Regions from separate parts of the Homo sapiens genome. Here regions 2, 3 and 4 are each linked to region 1. The links are contacts of gene promoters, found by promoter capture Hi-C in blood cells and fetal thymus (Javierre and others, 2016). All regions are on one chromosome and are shown on one strand. Each heading gives the region's core, a stretch centred on a gene start or on the middle of the fragment in contact. The rest is flanking DNA. Distances are from core to core; before and after follow the strand shown.

What was found. Contacts are between HindIII fragments. The CHiCAGO score rates a contact against its expected background, and 5 or more counts as called.
Region 2: a contact is called between a fragment that was not itself captured here and the fragment with the promoter of VEZF1 in region 1, in 1 of 17 cell types (M0 macrophages). The highest score is 5.3, in M0 macrophages.
Region 3: a fragment that was not itself captured here is called in contact with the fragment with the promoter of VEZF1 in region 1 in 2 of 17 cell types (naive CD8 T cells and naive CD4 T cells); the score reaches 5.6 in naive CD8 T cells.
Region 4: a fragment that was not itself captured here is called in contact with the fragment with the promoter of VEZF1 in region 1 in 1 of 17 cell types (fetal thymus); the score reaches 6.4 in fetal thymus.

What each region holds. Positions count from the first base shown.
Region 1 is chr17:57,985,766-57,990,461 of GRCh38, forward strand. VEZF1 (vascular endothelial zinc finger 1) reads right to left here and starts at 2,489. Exons shown (of 6, transcript NM_007146.3): 1 at 2,314-2,489. The coding sequence starts at 2,346. LOC101929185 (a long non-coding RNA gene) reads left to right here and starts at 2,345. Exons shown (of 1, transcript XR_001752716.3): 1 at 2,345-4,696. It also overlaps a transcript of SRSF1 not described here. RefSeq lists silencers at 1,752-1,821, 1,902-2,381, 2,452-2,731 and enhancers at 2,882-2,931, 2,952-3,091. The HindIII fragment of the contact is 4,468 bases long and covers 1-4,335 here.
Region 2 is chr17:57,144,212-57,148,903 of GRCh38, forward strand. No RefSeq gene overlaps it. Among named protein-coding and RNA genes, the nearest start is that of AKAP1, 61 kb to the left of the region's middle. The HindIII fragment of the contact is 1,113 bases long and covers 1,265-2,377 here.
Region 3 is chr17:57,259,162-57,263,991 of GRCh38, forward strand. MSI2 (musashi RNA binding protein 2) reads left to right here. Exons shown (of 14, transcript NM_138962.4): 5 at 2,990-3,031. Among named protein-coding and RNA genes, the nearest start is that of MSI2, 5.1 kb to the left of the region's middle. RefSeq lists an enhancer at 601-1,124. The HindIII fragment of the contact is 3,016 bases long and covers 882-3,897 here.
Region 4 is chr17:57,087,239-57,091,787 of GRCh38, forward strand. The region is part of intron 1 of AKAP1 (A-kinase anchoring protein 1); the gene reads left to right. Among named protein-coding and RNA genes, the nearest start is that of AKAP1, 4.3 kb to the left of the region's middle. RefSeq lists an enhancer at 4,174-4,549. The HindIII fragment of the contact is 1,333 bases long and covers 1,062-2,394 here.

The DNA of each region.
Region 1 (4,696 bases), core at 1,239-3,738:
GTGAGTCACATCTTGAATGTCCTGTTAGAAGAATCATCCATCAAACATTTTAATAGCTATAGCTTTCACTTTCCACCAAGTTATCTGGAAAGCAAGCAGGTATTAAATTGTTTCAAAATATAAATTCAACAGGATGCTCCAGGAAACAAACAAGATAATTTAACTCCATATCCCCAGTGAAAATTACTTAAAACCAGAACTGATTAAGTCTATTCATACCTTTCCATAGAAAAGACTGAAATATTCTCTTTACCCATTCAACTGCTCTCGGCTCTAAATTTTAAGTTTTCCAACAAATTTCACTGCACACATTGCCAAGCCCAGGATTAAATATTTGTTTTCACACTTCTCCATCAGGTGGAAAAAAAGATTTTAATAGCTGAAAAAAATTAAATAATATAAAATCTAATTAAAAAGTTGATCAATAAACGCTTGGCATTTGTTTTACCCAGGAGAAAAATAATCTTTAAAAAAGTATTTCAAAAGATTTTTCAACCAGCTTTCCAAAGATGTGTTATGGGTTTTTCCTTTACATGAAGAACACTTTTTTTTTTCAATCTCTATAGACACCATGCTTAATATGGTTTTTAATCACACGAAAATCACTTCAGTGGCACATCAATCCCATATTTTAAAATAACCATTTGAGCTTTTTTCTGGGGAAAGTATTTGCCACCTTTACACCAACCTGGATGCATGCTAGTTATATATCATTTCTTTTCCAATGCATTTTCAAGTTGGTTTATCACATTATTAGCAAGCTCATCAAAGTACAATAAAACAACACTGATCAGAATGAGAAAAGGGGGAAGTTCATGAATTCCATAATGTTGGGTATTTTAGATTTTAAGAAGCCCAAATATATTTCCATAACTACTTAAAGATCAAATTGCCCACATTTGAAAAAATATGTCTTAAAACAACAGGCCAGTCTACACAGTAGGTAATTTCTGAGTTATCCAATTCTCTATATTAACTCCACTAGGATGAATCCAGTGGCTGGGAGAATAATTTTTTGAAAATTCTGCATCCGTTCCTGTTAGTTTCAAAAGGTATCAAGCGCCCCAGCTACGCGTTTGGGATTTCACGAAGTATTCAAAGGAAAATAACTCAGAGAGGCGGGAAGAACGCACTTAAAAGTGACGAGCTTCCTAACCTCCTCCAGTTCCGAAGTTTCCCCGTGAGCTCATCGCTACTGCCCACTGAATGCTTCGTTTTGCAAACAGAAACGAAGTAGGAAAAAAATAAGTTCCAGCCTAGATCTGCCAAACAGGGGTCCCCCATCTAAAGTGGGCGGGCAAGAGAATTGCCAAAACACATCGGCTACAGTCACTTTCAAGTTTCTTGCAAAAAAGCGAAGACCAACATCCCAGAGAGTGACTCATCTGGGGGCTTTGTAAGCGGACTTTGTTTGCTCTCTCCACTTGGTTGGAGGAAACGTTCGAGGTGGGCGAGAAAGAAAAGCGCTTCGGGAGAAGGTCGGGCCTCCAGGAGTCCCGGCCCCCACCGCTCCCCGCCTGCCCCGGGCCGGCCCGGCTGGGGGATTCCCCAGGCTGAATGGGACGGCGGGAGAGCTGGACAGAGGGAGAAGGTGTCAGCTGCCAAGGCTCGGCTGAGACTTGGGAAAAAAAAATGTAAATCCAGTGAAAAAGTTTGGGGAGGGGATACACACTCACAACATCCGCCCCCCCAACTGGGTAAACACGAGAGGGGTGGTGGCGGTGAGGGGGAGTGGCGGGGAACCTGGGGATACCCGCTATTCGCGGGGACACGGGAGGGGGTCAGAAAGTCAACACACGCACGCACACACACAAAAAGACGAGGAAGGTGAAAAGAGAACAAGCGAAAGATGGATGAAGTGGCGGGGAGGAGACTCAGGGCAGGACCTGGGGACCTCCTCACCCCACCGTGGGGGACCGGGCCGGCACGCAATGGCCCAGCAGCCCGCGCTATCCAGCGGCCCGGCGCCCTCCTTTCTCTGGGCCGCGGGGTGGTGACAGCGACCGGCCTCCTCCCTTCCCCTTCAGAGCGAGAGGGAAGGGTGTGTGTGAGTGTGTGTGTGTGCGTGTGTGTGCTGGGGGGCCCCCGGGTTCACCCCGCGGCCTGCTATCTCCCCCGCACCCCGTGAGGCCGCCTCCTTTCACCTCAGCAGCCCCGCTTCGCCGGGGCGGGCGGGCGGAAAAACAAAGGGGGATTAAGGCCGGGCCGGAGAGCGGAGCCGGGAGGGAGGGGAGGAGGAGCGCCCGCCCGCCCGCCAGCCCGGGGCCCGGCCCCCCTGTCCCCCCCGTGCCCCCCCGGGGGGGCCCCCAGTACCTGGAACAGGAACGCGGTCCAGTTGGCCTCCATGGCTGCGGCGGCCGACCCCCCTCCTCCCCACTCCCCCCGCTCGGGGAGCCTCCTCAGCCGGAGGAGGCGACAACAAAGCGGCGGCGGCGGCGGCGGCAACGGCAGCGGCGGCTCCTCAACATGGCAGCGCCGAGCGCGGCCACTTCCGGTAACCTCCGGGACGCACCACCGCGGCGGCGAGCGCGGGCGGGGGGGGAGCCCCGGCCCGGCCGCCGCCGCCCCCAGTCGCCCGGACCCCCTCTGGGCGTCCCCGCTGCCGGCTCGCCGCCTCGGAGCTCAGCCAGTGCCCGCTGGCGGTGGGGTCAGGGCCCCCGCGGGGGGGCTGGGGTGGGGCCCGGGGCGGGGATGGGGCGCGGCGTCCCCCCCCGCGGGGGTGTGTGGTGCTGCGGTCCGTGGCTCAGGCAGCTGGAGCAGGGGGAGCTCAGGAGAGAAGATGGAGGACGCCAGGGTCTGGCGCTGGCCCGCTGGGCACAGCTGGGCCGTCTCCCGTGACTCAGACACGGTGTCCAGCACCGTCGCGTCCCTGTTAGACCCTCAGCGGAGGGCACAGGCCACGGCGGACACTCGGCTCTTCAGTCGCTCATGCACAGCATGGTCCCCACCTCCAAACTGGGGGAAGCCCTTTCGACTTCGAGCCTCTCTTCCTTTTGGCATTTCCTCCCCGGCCGGCTAAGCCCTCTGCGCTCTCGCTATGATATGCATCTCATGGCGAGATGGCCTTCCAACTCAAGCAGGGAATCCCACTGGGGTGCAGCCTCAGATCCTCTCAGTGTGGAGGGAAACACTTCCCACGCGTAGAGATGTCATTACTGGGTTATTCTTGGGTGAAGGGCTGAGCCTCCCCATCCTCCCCTTCACTCCAAGATAGGATGTGAAATTCTATCCCAACACCCCTCCTCTCCCGCCAAAAATAAAAACAAGTGAGATAGTATAGACAAATTATTTTAGTCCTTTAGTACAGTCTGTTTCCTCCTTCACCCCCAGAACAAAAATCGAACTTCTGGTTGGACAGCGTCAGATGTCACTGAGGTGACCCCAGCCTGTTTGCAGTTCCAAGTCTTCCGTGTAGGCGTCACTGCTACTGGAACTTTGTAGATGAGGAGCCTGTATGATGATGTCCTGAACATTTCTATCCTTTCCTCACACAGAGGGAAGCTACTGGGAATATCAGAGACAAGCTATTATTAAACAAGTGTCTCTAGTCCAAGACATCTCCTGTGGCAGGGAAATGAGGGGGCAGGCTGTATCAGTGATATTTTTATAAACTCTGGTTTTAGAAAAAATTCTTCAGATGGACGCATTATTTTAAGACTTTAACATTTTCCAAAACCAACTGAATCTTATCCCCTCCATTTATCCCCCTCCAGACACTTCTAATCAAGGTCACCATCTCCAACTTCCCCCATAGACAATAAAAATATGGCTGGAGAATTCTACTGTAATAGAAAACCAAGGAGATATAGTAATTTGACAGTGTGTTTCCTTTCCATCCACTAGACAAGAATACCCCCTCCCATTCTTTCCTCCCCTCAGTCACCAGAATGAAGGGGCTGGAAAACGTTGGTCTGGTTCCTTTTAGAGCTGATTCCCCATTGGATACTGCCTGGAGGCCTTGGGGATGAATGAGAAGTTCTGCAGTTTGGATCAGTAGCAGAAGCAGGTAACACATCAGGGAACCGGTCAGCCTAAGATAGGAGGGGACAGAAAATGATGAAAGAGTTTCTGATACATTTATCAGCTAAATTGCTATGGTCACCCCCATGTCTCCTGTAATGTCCAAACCTAAGGAATTAACTAAGTAAACTAAAACCTTTGTGTTCTTGCTCTGACCTTGGACAATGGAATTCTTCTTATTTTCATTCAGTGGATAGCAAATCTGCTTCTTCCCTGCCTTAACTCACTCAAGGTCTCTGTGATGCACTCCAGAGTTTTCCTCCTTCCCTGCATAGTCTTCTCCTCCCTAGCTGCCTTTCAAATTGGTGAAAATGAAGCTTCAGGATTATGAAAACTAGTACTTAATGAAGACCATTATTCTAATGACAATATCGCTGGACTCTTGAACTTGTTATGCTGGGATCTAGAAACCCTTTCCCCAGCAATCTTTCACACAGCACCTCTGGGAAGCGGTTTCCCACTAACAGGAAATAGAGGTCAAGTGGAAACAGTCCAGTTCTCATTACTGAAAAGCTAAGATTCAGAAGAATCACTTTTCTTGAGGAAAATGGCTAATTCTATTTCTATCCATAAGACAAAATCAGAATTGATTGCTCCTCAAACATTCTTTAAAAAAAAATTAACCTTTTAAGTTCATGTAAATTTTAAACACTGAGCTATTTTCCAGAAGGAAAAT
Region 2 (4,692 bases), core at 571-3,070, 840 kb before region 1:
TTTTTTTTTTTGAGATTGAGTCTCACTCTGTGTCCCAGGCTGCAGTGCAGTGGCTCACTGCAGCCTCGACCTCCTGGGCTCAGGTGATCCTCCCACCTAAGCCTCCTGAGTAACTGGGACTACAGGCATGTGCCACCATGCCTGTCTAATTTTTGCATTTTTTTTTTCAGTAGAGACAGGGCTTTGCCATGTTACTCAGGCTAGTTTTGAACTCCTGGGCTCAAGCAATCTGCCTGCCTCGTACTCCCAAAGTGTTGGGATTATAGGCGTGAGCCACTGCGCCCAGCTGGTTCTTTTCTTCTCTGACATTAAAATGACTCTGAGGCCTATGATCATGGTCCTCTGGGTGGGGAAGGTTGGGAAGATCTCATCTGAGTTTAGCTTATCCCTAGGCCTTGACCAATCGCTGATGCTCCTTAAGGGTCTCCTACATTTTGGAGGCATATGCAGAAGGAACCTGAAGTCACAAGATCAGAGGTCCTGCGGCAGTTTAAATAACAATAGCAACAACTGCTACGACTACTTCTCCCATTATTCAGCACAACTGCAGCTGGGGGATTTAGGTTCATGGTCTGCAGCTAACATTTATTGCGGACTTACTCTGGGCCAGGCACCATTCCTTACGCTTTATGTATATTATCCTGCTTCACCCTCCCAACGACCCCAGGAGGTAGGTACTGTAGCTTCTACAGGAGGTAGAAGCAGAAGCACAGAAGCCTAGTGTGTGTCCCAGGCCACACAACCGGTAAGTGAGATTGTTAAGATGCCCCCGGGAGTCTGTCTCCAGAATCTGTGTTCCTCATCACTCCTGCATACTCCCCATTTACAAGGGCAGAAACTGAGGCTACAGGAGGTTAATTGATCTGTGAACAGCCAGGATCCTGGGAGTTCTCAGACCTGTCCATTTTGTGAGAAGGGAAAAAGTCTCGCTGCTCCTTGTGTTTCTTTCTGTTTTTCCAAGTCAGTCCATTTTTTTTCTTGTAACAAAAGTCTATTTACGGAAGAGACATATAGGACCCAAGATAACCATGCATCAGTCATGCTTCAGTGAACTCCCAAATCAAAGATGGGCTGGATAACGTGTACCCGACGCTCTTGGCTTTTTCAGCATTTCAGACGTTTTTGTTGTTGTTCCCTCTGTGGGTTGAAACCAGGCTTTTGTGACTTGATGAGGACACATTTTTCCTGGGGTGTAATAATGCCACTGGTGTTAGCCCTAATGCTGAAGAGAGAACATTTGCTATTTTGGAAGAGTTAATCCCAAAGCTTCTTTCTTTTGCTCCTGCCTTTAGAAAAGGCATTTCTGAGGCAGGTCCAGGCAAGAGTACTGCCTCTGTAATCCGCCCTCAATCATCTTAGCGCTAATCACCGAGCTTCATTGAGTACTTTGTAATGTGCCAAGCTGGGAGCTGAAGGCTGATTTGATTCTCTTAACATCTTCTGAACGGGTATAGCTGTTACCCCCATATTACAGATAGGGCACTGAGGCATGGAGCTTAAATGGCTTGACCAAGATGCCCCGGCAGCAAGGGGCAGAGCTGGGAATAGAACCCCGACTCCAGACATAGGCTATTAATGCCACAGTCTGCTACTCCAGGACTGACCATTACGTTTGTGGGGAGTGGGAGGGGAATGAAACTGCAGGGCCTCTTGTTCAACAAAGATTAAGACTTTAAGACTGCTGGGTGCAGTGGCTGAAGCAGTTTGGGATGCTGAGGTGGGAGGATCGCTTGAGCCCAGGAGTTCAAGACCAGCCTGGGTAACATAATGAGACCTCCGTCTCTATCTTTTAAATATAAAAAACTAAAAAATTAAAAATAAAAATAATGTAGGCCGGGCATGGTGGCTCACGCCTGTAATCCTAGCACTTTGAGAGGCCAAGGCAGGTGGATCACCTGAGGTCAAGAGTTCAAGACCAGCCTGGTCAACATGGCGAAACCCCGTCTCTACTAAAAATACAAAACTTAGCCAGGTGTGGTGGCACATGCCTGTAATCCCAGCTACTCAGGAGGCTGAGGCAGAAGAATCGCTTGAACCCGAGAGTTGGAGGTTTCAGTGAGCCAAGATCGCGCCATTGCACTCCAGCCTGGGCAACAAGAGTGAAACTCCGTCTCAAAAAAAAAAAAAAAAAAAGTGTTAAGACTGTGACGGCAGAGTATTAACCAACTGTGGAGCCCTTCTCAGTATGAGGCCCTGTGTGACTGCACAGGACAGATGCCCAGGAAGCTGGCCCTGACTACCCCTTTGGGCAGTTCCCTGGCTGTCTTCCAGCTTCCAGCCCTCTTTTCCAGGGGGACAAAAGCACCTTGGCCCAGGCAATGTGCTTTATACCGCCCTGACAGCTATGAAAAAGAATGGCACAGCCTGGGCTTTAGAAAGCTTGGGTTGCTGCAGGTTCCTTCTGAGCAGCAGGCAGAGAGGGCTCAAGCCAAGACTGGGTGCCCCAGCCCATCTTCTGCCTCATCGGTGCCCCCGAGGGCTGGCACTTGGCGAAGCCCCACCCCACCTCCAGGCTGTGTCTTGTGGAGAACACAGCCCCTCTGGACTCCTCCCTGTCTCTGCCCATCCTGTGGCTATGTTCATGATGGGGCCTCCTGGAGGTTCAGAGAGGGCCAGAACATTGTCCTTTCTTTAAGCTTTGGTTTATTAAACAATGGAGAAATGTCAAAACGGATTGCAAAAATTGTGGTGTGCTTCAAATGTGTGCATGTTTAAAATCAAGGCCATTATTATAAAAACAAATAAGATGCAATATAAATGTGCTTTTCCCAAGACAGTTACTGGATTTATTCATTCCCAGCTCACATACACAGTAGAACCCGGTAATGGAATACGTGGTGTTATGATATAGATGGGCTGTTGTCCACGGCTTCTGCTTCATATCTCCCATAGCCCCTGTTACAGCCTTTACTTATAATGTTGGGTGTATTAGGCCTCAGGGGCAGGCTTCAGGAAACAGAATCTCTCTCTTGCCCTCCATTCACCTAACTCAAGATAGGACTCTCATTTTCTTTTTTTATTGAGATGGAGTCTCGCTTTGTCACCCAGGCTGGAGTGTAGTGGCGCAATCTCAGCTCACTCCAACCTCTGCCTCCTGGGTTCAAGTAATTCTCCTGCCTCAGCCTCCTGAGTAGCTGGAATTACAGGTGCCCACCACCATGGCTAGCTAATTTTTGTATTTTTAGTAGAGACACAGTTTCACCATGTTGGCCAGTCTAGTCTTGAACTCTTGATCTCAGGTGATCCGCCCGCCTCAGCCTCACAAAGTGTTGGGATCACTGGTATGAACCACTATACCCAGCCTCAACTTCCCCTGCCTTTCTGATTGTGGGTCTTAAGGCTTTCTTCAGAGAGGGTCCCACCCTGTACCCTGGGGGGAAAATGCTTTGAAACTTCCATAAATACCCAAGAGGACTGGGTTGGGGGAGCTCCCGGATAGCTGAACGTGTGAAGCCTGGTATCCCAGGGAGGGGATGGAAGCTCCACGCCCTTTCTCCTATACCCTATGCATCTCTTCATCTGTATCCTTTGCAATATCCTTTTTTGGAGACAGAGTCTTGCTCTGTGCCCAGGCCGGAGTGCAGTGGTGTGATCTTGGCTCACTGCAACCTCTACCTCCCGGGCTAAAGCCATCCTCCCACCTCAGCCTCTTGAGTAGCTGCGATTACAGGCATGCGCCATCACGCCTGGCTAATTTTTGTATTTTTTGCAGAGACGAGGTTTCACCATGTTGGCCAGGCTGGTCTCGAACTCCTGGCCTCGAGTGATCTGCCCACCTTGGCCTCCCAACGTGCTTGGATTACAGGCGTGAGCCACTGTGCCTGGCTGCGATATTCCTCATAATGAACTGGTAAATGCGAGTGTTCCCCTGAGTTCTGTGAGCTGCTCCAGCAAATTAATTGAACACAAAGAGGGTGGTGGGGGCAATTGTGAAGCCAATCAGTCAGAAGTTTCAGAGGCCTGGACTTGCCACTGGTGTGTGCTGGAGGGCAGTCACGGGGACTAAGCCCTCAGCCTGTGGGAGCTGACGCTATCGTAGTGTCTGAACTGAATTGGAGGACACCCCCCTGGGGTCCGCTGCTTGGTGTGTGGGGAAGAAACACACATACCTTTGGTCATAAAAATTCTGTGTTGATTGCTGTGGTGTGACAGCTGAGGAAAAATGTGGCTGGAGAGAGTTTTTCCCTATAGAATATAATTATTTTTTAGTTTTCATTGAGGTATAATGCACGAAGTATGGGGAAAGTGCACTGATCTTAGGTGTTCCACTTGCTTTTTATATATGTATATACCTCCATAACCACTACCGACATCAGGATATTTACAGCACCTAGAAGTTTCTCTCACCCCCCTTCAAAGTCAGTACCCCCGAAGAGGTCAGTGCCGTTATGGGTTCTATCACCTAATGATTGGTTTTACCTGTTCTTGGATTTCCTATAAATGGAAGAATACAGTGTATATTCTTTTGTGCTTGGTATCTTTCTCTGAACATAATGTCTGTGAAATCACCTATGTTTTTGCATATGGCAGTGGTTTATTCTTTTTATTGTTGAGTAGAATTCCATTACGTGATTATGCTGCAATATATTCCCCATTCTCTTGCTGAAATGGGCATTTGGGTTGCATCCAGTTTGGGGCTATTAGGAGGAAAATGCTGTCAACATTCTTGGACACTCTTTTTTTTGGTGGATA
Region 3 (4,830 bases), core at 1,140-3,639, 730 kb before region 1:
TCTCCTCCCTTCCCTTTATGTCTACCAGAGTTTCCCCACGGTTTTTATTAATATATATCTGCCCCAAACAGAGGCCTTAAGATGACATTGGGCTGTAGTGCTGGGTTGCATGGAACTTCACTCCTCTGTGATGGGGTAGTGGGACAAGGCCAGAAATGGGGCTCTACTTCCATCCGCCTCTTATGAAAGTGAGCAAGACATTCCCTACCTCTGGGTCTCAATTTCCTCTTCTGTAAAATAAGTGGACCAAGGTGATCTTTCAAGCCCCTTTTGGCTTTAACATTGAATGGAAGAGAAGGAAAGCAAATAAAGAAACCTGGCAACCTTCGGTGCACTTGAATTGATTTTGCAAATTCACCCTCTTTCTCTGATCAAAGAGATCAGGAATGCGTGCCTTCTCCTAAGAAAGAAACCCACCTACACTCTTAGTTGCTTTATTAATTGTCCTGGACTTGTCATAGCTTGCATGCAGCCCAGCCTTTTGTACTTTTAGATAATTTAATTTCAGAAATGATTTGTAGGATGATAACAGATGTCTGAAAAATTTTTCTCTCCTTGATTTCGTGGCTAGCCATTTCAAAAAGCTAGTGAAATTAAAGAGGAAAATCTTTTCAAGGCAAATTTGGGAATTTATCATCCACCCCCTCTTGCTACCTGGGTGGGAGAAACAGTATTTGGTTTCTGTGGTGGCTGGTGGGTCATATTCCTCTGTATCAGGTGCAAAGCCTGCAGTTTCCCTCTCTGATTGTTTATAGACATGTTTTGGTCACTATTATTTAGTGTAACCTAGCTTTTGACTTTGTTTCAACGTTCAGTGCAGGAGGCAGAAGCGGTTGGTTTATTGACATGGAAACGAGGATCTTGTTTACTGTTACCTTAAAAGCTTTGTTTAGGTAACGGCCATTCACATCCAAAATAGTACCCTAGTCTTTTCCTAGAGGACTTGTAGATACAGTAAGTAGAGCTGTACCTAACTAACTAATGTTTTAATTTTTGGTAGTTTTCTTTTTTGTTTGTTTTTTAAAAAATAGTTGACAGGGATGTGCAAAAGGTTGGGATTTGCCATGCTTAACTTGACCCTTCCTCTCCTTCAGAGATCTCAGCGTGTAAACTTTGCACACTGAGGAACTTCGATCATGATATAATGCTCTGATACGGCCACACACCATCCAGGAGTTCTGAATTGGCTTTTTCGTTTTGTGATTTAAATTTTCTTTAGTACTTCACTTTCTTCATTGCACCTTACTTCTTCCAGCTCCTGGCACCTCCCTCAACATACCCCACACCTGTTACCCCATAAACAAGGTGATTTCTGATTGCAATTGTGTGCCGGCCAACTAAAAAAAACACCCTCTGGGGAGTATTTATAAAAAGACACCTCTGTCTTACGTACGTCAACAGAATGGAAAATCCACACCTGTTGTATTTCTCTTGTAGACAAGCGCTAGTCAGTGCTGGACACACCTGTAGATGCAGTAATGTTAATCTTTATGAAAGGGTAGTTTTCTAGATCAGAGATTTTTGTCTATTTTAGTTTTTGAAAAGTAATCTCTCATTTCTCAGGTGATGTTTAAAGGTAGGGAATGCAATGCAGACTTTTATTAGGTCTTTAAGCCCCCGTAATAACAGCAGGAAATCCTCATATGTCTTTCTGGCTGGGACCCTAGGTGATGTAAGTCAGGGAACAAATGAACTATCCTCCGTGCTTCCCACTCCCCACCCCCACCTCCCTACTTTCCTCCACAGCATTACTCTTTTCTCCCCTGCTCCTTCTCATGGCAGAAGTGAAAACAAAGCTCAGATTTACTTTTTAAAAGGAAAACATTTTAATATGAAAGCCAAAGCCTGGAAATAAATAACTGGTAGCATGTTTATACTATCTGTGTTACATTTTTACCCAAAGATTTGTGACATTTAGAAATTCAATGAAAACCGACAACGGGAATATTTTCACATTTCTTTCCTCCTCTTTTTATCTGTGCAGTCACTTTTTTCCTCCCTCACATCAGCCTGTTAGATTCACATGCTTCCAGGAGAACTGTTCTGAGCTGTACAGCTAGACCCTGATTGAGCATCATGCGTTTTGCAAGTGTGTGATTTGGACTGGAGGATGTTTTTCCACTCGGATTGAGGTTGGGGTAGGGGAATTCCCTACTTGTTGCACTAGATTCTGACTACTTCTTGTATTCAGTAACTTTTTTTTTTTTTTGGTGCCCTCCCCATGATGGGATTTCTTTTCTAATTTGGGTTTAGGTTGCTTATAGATTTTTACTCCCTGTTGTTTTTAAAATCCAGGTGGATTTAGCTCACATGCTTCATTTTCTTTACTTCAAAAAATTATTTTTTATCTTTTGAGGTATAGCTACAGAACAGATGATCTTTTTGGTTAATCCTGGGTAACTTTACTTTTGCTAAAATGAATTAATTAACTCAAGCAGAGCACTGTGTTGGATGTCTGTGGGGAGTTTTTGGATGTTGTTGATTTAAAAAATTTTTGGAAGCTCCTTTCCCTCCTGTGTTGTTTAGTTATCATCAGGGAGAAGAAATACCATCCAATTACCTACTGCTAGAGAATACTTACATTTAATTTTCAGGTTATGATTTTTTTCCCAATGATAATGATGCTCCCATCTTTTCTCCCAGCCACGCATAGCAAATTAGATGTAGATACCATTTAATATTCAGTGTCTGGAAGAAGAAGCCCTTGCCTAAATAAGAATTACATGAGATCTGGTTTATTAAGAGCATCACACACTGAAATGCATGGTGGGTCATTTCAGAAAGGCTAGCTAGCTATGTTAGTTACCTGATCTGTTGGAGGGATGGTTAAAGTTGAGATCAAAGTTTAAGAAACTTTTGAGTTGCCTGAGAAGTTACTAAAAGCTGGATTATAAGCCTGAGAAATGAGTGATTAATAATTAGGTGATTAATCATATATTTTTTCCTTAAAGTACTTTATTGACTCCTGCTTTTCTATTTTTTTTCCCAGATTGACCCCAAAGTTGCATTTCCTCGTCGAGCGCAACCCAAGGTAAGTAGGAGAATAAACAGTAGGATTTTAGCACTCAGAGATGATTGCCAAGAATTTCAAATTTCAAACAGCATTGGCCATGAACTGTTGAAGCCTGGTATTCACTGTTCCTTCGGGGTATCAGGACAGGCTGGGCAAGTAGTCCTGTGAGATAACCATGCGTCTCTAAGTTAGCCATCCCAAGGTGGCTTCTGAACATCCACCTGGGGGCAGGGACAAGTCTGATGCTTAGTGGGAGGACGTGTTTCCATCGACTGCAGTATTTTTTGCAAGGATTCTATTTGTTTTTTAAGCATTTCCAATATCATATCAGGAAAAGTCGAACATTTCCTTGTGACTCTTTCGGAGGGTACTCTTTGAGGCTTTACAACTTGGAGTTAATGCAGAGGAGTAGAGTTTGACTAAACAGCTGATCCTTTCTTGGAAAAGACAACTTCTTAGGCCCATAAAGCCTTAAATCTGGGAGGGCAAGCAGTGGATATCTTGGTTTTAGGTTGGTTGGATAAGTCAGGGCATACTTGAAACCAACAGTGCTTCTTATTTGTGCAAGTGCTGGTGCCTGGGTGGAGAAGTCCTGAAAATGTTGTAACCTTGTAGGAGTGGCACTACAAGACTTGCTTAAAGAATTGAGATAGGGCTTCACTTTTTTAGAAGTGTGTCGTTAACATAGTTTTCACTGAGCTTGCCAGGTGTGGCTATGAGAACACAGTTGCTTGAAGCCTAAGGTTAAATTGGAAGGGCTTATGGCTTACATGTTACATTTACACTTTTTAGTTACTATTTTTCTTCCTTATGTAGCACTGGAAGAAATGCTTTTTATGTATCTTCGGGATTTGTCATTCTTTTAGGGAAAGGGGAAAAGTTGAAGCTTCTAAGTCGGAAAAGGTTGTGGCTTTAGCAAATTCAGTTTATTTCTTTATGCACAGTCTCCCAGAAGTGGAACCTTTTAATCGTGTAAAGAGAGGAATGGTTTTGCACATTAGTATAGAAAAAGTTGGTGATTGTGATGGTACTTTGAGAATTTCAGGTCTGGGGCATACCACTTGATTGATTGATTCCTTCCTTCCCTCCTTCTTTCTCTCCCTCCCTCCTTGTTCTCTTCTCCCTTTTTTAAAGATGGAAACACAACTTTTTAAGTAAATACAATGAAATATTTTCTTCAGGCATTTTTTTGTAATGCTTAAGCAAATGATAGGAATTAATGATTAGGTTATTTTTGTACTTAGCACAAACTTTGGAATTGCCCTTATTGTTTTAGTTACTTCCCAAACTGTCTGTGATCCTTCACATTTCAGAGGGCTTCCCAGAGTTAGCAGTATTTCCTGGGTTTGGAGGAATTGCTGTTTCTTCCATAAGTGTGAATCTTCAAATTTCCAGGTTAGTCATTTGATCACTCAGAGCTTGGATCAGATTACCCAAGAGGGAAGCTGGAAAAATCCCTTACTTGGTAAAACCATGGGTTTGACCTGTTTTTCTCTCCCCTTTGTTGTCCCCCTTCCTTAACTTTGTTTTTAAATGAGAAAAGCAATATTTCACTTTAATACACTCTGCAGTGATGCATTCAACTTGAAAACGAGACAGAATGTTTCTCAAACTTGTCAAAGTGTGCATTCCTTTCCCAACCCTCAACTCCACATCTGGAATGTTTGTAGGTGAATTAACATGAAACCACTTGGGGGAGAACATCTTTCCATGAATTCTAGGGATTTAATAATAACACCTTACTGTGTATGACATACTTCACTTTACGGAGGACTTGGCTGTTCATTATCTCCATCTGAATTCCATCTCCTGGGGCA
Region 4 (4,549 bases), core at 478-2,977, 900 kb before region 1:
CCAATGAGTGAGACAGGTCTAATGGATTTGTGTCTAGGTCTAGTTCCTTGTAGGAATATCTCTCCCATCTCCCAGTTGTTTCTAGGAAATGCATTCTCACTTGGCCACTGCAGGGTGACAGTGGAGGTGTCTGTTGTAAGTGGCCTGCTCAGGTGCTGAAGTCGATATGTCTCCAGTGTAAGGTTGCTGAACATCAATATTTAAAAGCAATTTATCTTGCTGCCTGGTAACCCAAATTATTCTTGAGCTTTGGACATAGGCTGGGTTGCAGCCATATTTTAGGGGAAGGCTGGTGTTAGCCTCTACAGTATTCCCTTTTCCTGTCCTAAAGACAAATGGAGATCATATTTGTGATACTGGGGACTGTGATAGGTGCTTAAGCATTGCTCTTCCCCTCTCCTCCCTGAACAATCCCTGAGACTGACTTTGTTTCTCTTGAATTACTTGAGTGACTTGAATTCTATTAAAAGCACCCCTCTCCTTAGCCTCTGACCCAGAAGCTTGTTTGGGAGGAAAAACGAATTGGTTTCCCTAAGCTTTGCTGGCTAGCCTCCTGCTCCCAGCCTGCAACATGACTTGATTGTGTGTGCATTTCAGGGCTTTGAAGAGCAGGCAGCTTGTAGCCAATGTACCCAGAGAGCTGGCCGTAGAGTTCCCCTAGGTCACTCCTTCCTAATCTTCCCTGTGAGTCTGAATGATTGGGCCTTTCTGTAGCTTGGTCTGTTTTCCTATTGTGGGGAAGTCAGTTGTTTCAGGTATGAGTTAATACCTTCAGCTTGTCATTCTCAGGCGTTTTCTTCCACTATGGGGAGGTAGTAGATCCTGTGGGCATCTTGTCCCATTGAAATCATCTCATATACTGTTTGAGAGTTGCTCATCTTTATGGTGGGGGGTGTATTTTAGTCCTAAATCTTGCTTCTTAGGGCAAGTTCTGTTTCTTCCATGTTCCTTCCTGGTGTAATACCTCAGGCAGTTTTCACTTTTATGATCATTTAACATTAAGTTCCCATCACATGTGGCATCCCACTGAAGGAACCTCCTGGCCTTGGTACCTAATTTGAAGCTTGGGCTGTGGAAAACATCATCAGTGAGCATGTTTGAAGTAGGACAGAGTCTGGCTGGAGAAACAGGTAGTGGGGGAGCTGGGAGCTAAACTTGAGAGGATGCCTCTTTCTTGATAGTTACTGTGCTAGGTGAGTTATGAGCACACTAATCCTTTAATCCTCACACCTCTGAGAACAGTGAGGGTGAAGCTGGAGGTCATTCTGGATTGTTTCAGTGGCTGTCACACAAATTCAAATTGAGGGGTAGAGGAACTAGGAAGCGTGGGTGTGGAGTTAAAACTAGGTCCTCTGGATGGCTTTTGTGAGAAGAACCAAGGAATATTCTTAAATCCCTGGGCTTTTCTCCTAATCTTTCTGCTGCTTTCTAAGTAGATTGTTAACATTGTGTGTGTTATCATTCAGCATTCTGAGAACTAGCTTTCCAGCAATAAATAGCTTTCAAGGTGTCCTTTGCCTTAACTTTTTCATTTTACTAAATGGTGCAGCCTTGTCCACATTCTGTCCGGGTCTTCACCATCTGGTTGTTTTTCCGGCTTGGTTTGATAGTTTGCAGCAGTCAGTGGTAAACATTGTGTTCCCTGTTCTGTAATGGTGGCTGGTTGTGTTCACCGAGCCAGGTGTCACTAAGGCCCAGTTGCACTTGGGAGCAAAGAAGGGCCCTGAGGTGAGTCCTGGAAGTAAAAATATGTATAACCTAGGGCTGATGAGGCTTGTTTCACTGCTGGGCTTAGCTGACAAGAGCCTGGGACTTGCTGCAGCTCTCAGAGCTGAAACCTGGCGGTGATTCTAGGCAGGCTGGTTGGCCTTCCAGATCTTGGTTTATTCAGTGGCTAAAAGAGGTTTGGTCAAAATTATCAGTATTCAGATTATGGTCCTGGGAGCCTTGGAGTTAGACCAAACGTGCCCAGGGGCCACTGGAGTGATGTGTTTGGGCTGGGGAGCACAGCTCAATGGGTAGTACATGTCAAAGACTTAAGGGGAAAAAAAACAACTCACTGTTCATCTCAAGTTCTTAGCTCTAAGGTGTGCTACTGTTCTAAATATTTTTTATTTTTAAAGATAGCTTTATTTGCCTAAATTTGTCCTGGGTGTGGGGAGTTTAGAGCTGCCTTGTCTGTAGGGTAGCTGCTAGCTGTGTGACTAATTAAACTTTTCAAAGTATTTTTAAAAAAATTTCTTAGTGACATTAGCCACATTTCAGGTTCTCAGTGGCCTCGTGTAGCTAGTGGCTGCCGTCCTGGTCAGTACAGGTCAAGAACATTTTCCATAATCGAAGAAAGTTTTGTTGGACAGCGCCGGCCTAGAAAGTTTTTTTTTCTCCAACTCTAAAAGCTTAATTGTCTCAACTTGTAAATCTCTAAAGCATAACATGTTTGAGCTTAGTCTTCCAGAGTCCATAAACCCAACAGCTTTGGTGACAAATTATCTACTGGTTGTCTCCATGGCATACTACAAGTGAGTTCTAGTCTGCCAGTTGGGAGTGGACGAACAGTTTTGAAACAGTTTGAGTGAGGACCTTCAGAAAGGACCTGGGGACAGGAGCGTGAAGCAAAGGTCCAGATGCTAAGCCCTTAGAAAGCCCTTTTGGTTTGAAGCCGTTTATTATCATAAAGATCCCTGCTGGTTTGTCCTTGGTCTCCAAATGTCAGATGTCAACATATTGTTACTTGGTCCTTCACCCACCTGATGACTTCCTACAGATCTCAGTGCGGCCCTTCTCTTAAACGAGGTTGTGTTTTCATTCTGCTGTTTCCAGTCCACCTAAATGTTAGGGGCCATTCTTCACAGAAGGTGTTGGGGGAGAGTGGGGCCACAGCGTGGATGCTAACGTGTTCTGTTGTGGCAGGGGTGGGGAGTTCTTTGTTTCCAGATGCCCCCTCTTCTAGTCCTGGGTGTGCTTTGTTTGAACCCTGCTAGATTGACCTTTGGTATATATAATGTGAGATCTCTTTTCTTGGAGCCAGGCAGCATAAAGGACACTTACTGATGAGCACCTACTGGCATATTAGTGGCTTTTTTTTTTCTGTGTCATTTTTATTCTCTGTCAGCCCTATGAGGTTAGTACAGTGATTAGTTTGTGGGTGAAGAAACAAGATCCGAGTAGAGTAAACTGGTCCCTGGACACAGCAAGGGCTGGACTGGCTTGGACCTGGGCTGGGGCGTGCTCCCCACCTCCTCCTCTGCCCCTGCCGCCCCCCATGCTCATTGGTTGTTGCTTATTTACTGCCCCTTTATCACCACATCCTCATTCAGGAAACTAAACTGGGTTTTACAAAGATTAAAATCATTGATCCCACATATGGAGTCTGACTTAAGTGTGTTCAGCCTCGTTACAACTCTGTGAGGGAGATATTCCCTATTACAGAACATCTTCATTTTATGGGAAACTGAAGTACAGGATCCTACTCTTAACTCTCTTGTCTTTCCAAAGCCATATTTTATCATCAGAATTATGCAACCATCGGGTGCTTTTGAAATGCACAAGTAATGACTATGAATAAAAAAAGCTGTGCCTGAGGGCTCAGGGAAACTGCTCTGAAGACTGAGCTGATTGAAAAAGACAATCCTGAAGTCACTAATTTCCCGACACCTGTCAGACCTCACTTGGAGGTCACAGACCATCTCCTGGCCCTCCAAAGGCTGTCACCCAGCAGTAGCTGGCCTCCTGATTAGAGGAGGCAGTAAGATCTTTTCAAGCACAGCCCCAGCCCCCATCCCTTCTCTGGCCTGGGCCTGGATGTGCCTTTGTGAGGTTGGGTCGATGACAGATCTGAAGGACAGTTCAGTCTTCTGTACACTCCTTCTTGCCCCTCCTTTCTGCCACTCCCAAGAAAAAGGAGCAGGAGTGATTCTCACTTTCCTGAACTGCCTTGGAGGGAGACCCACACTCAGCTGTGCCTTTAGCTGTCTCTGGGAGAAAAGGCCGTGCTGCAAATAACCTCCCTGCTTTGTCCTTTGGCTTTGGTGTGGCTCACCTGGCCAAGCATGTGCTGGTGCTATTTTTAGCAGGTGGCATCCTTTAGGAGGGCCAAGTGCATGTGGCTGCAGTGTACGGGACAGGTCCTGGTGCCAAAGCTGCTGCTGTCTCTGCTGCCACCGCCTCGTCAGGAGAGAGAGGAGAATAAAGCCACCCTGGAAGCTGCCAAGGGGTGTGTGGAGGGGGTGGCTGCTTAAGAGGTCTCCAGGGCTGCCTTTTCTATTCTGGATCTGTGGCAGGGGCCCAGCCTGCCTCCTGGTGCAGGCAGGCATGTGACTGAGGCAGCCCGGGGAGCTGGGGAGCTGGGGAGCTAGGTGTCAGACTGCTGCCTGGGGAGTGAGGACCCCTTGTTGCCCCAGCAGGCAATTTTTCAGGAAACCACATAACCCCATTAAAAACATTATTTATTTATTTATTTATTTATTTAGAGATGAGGTCTTGCTTTGTCACCCAGGCTAGAGTACAGTGGCTCGATCATAGCTCACTGCTGCCTTGAATTCCTGGGTTC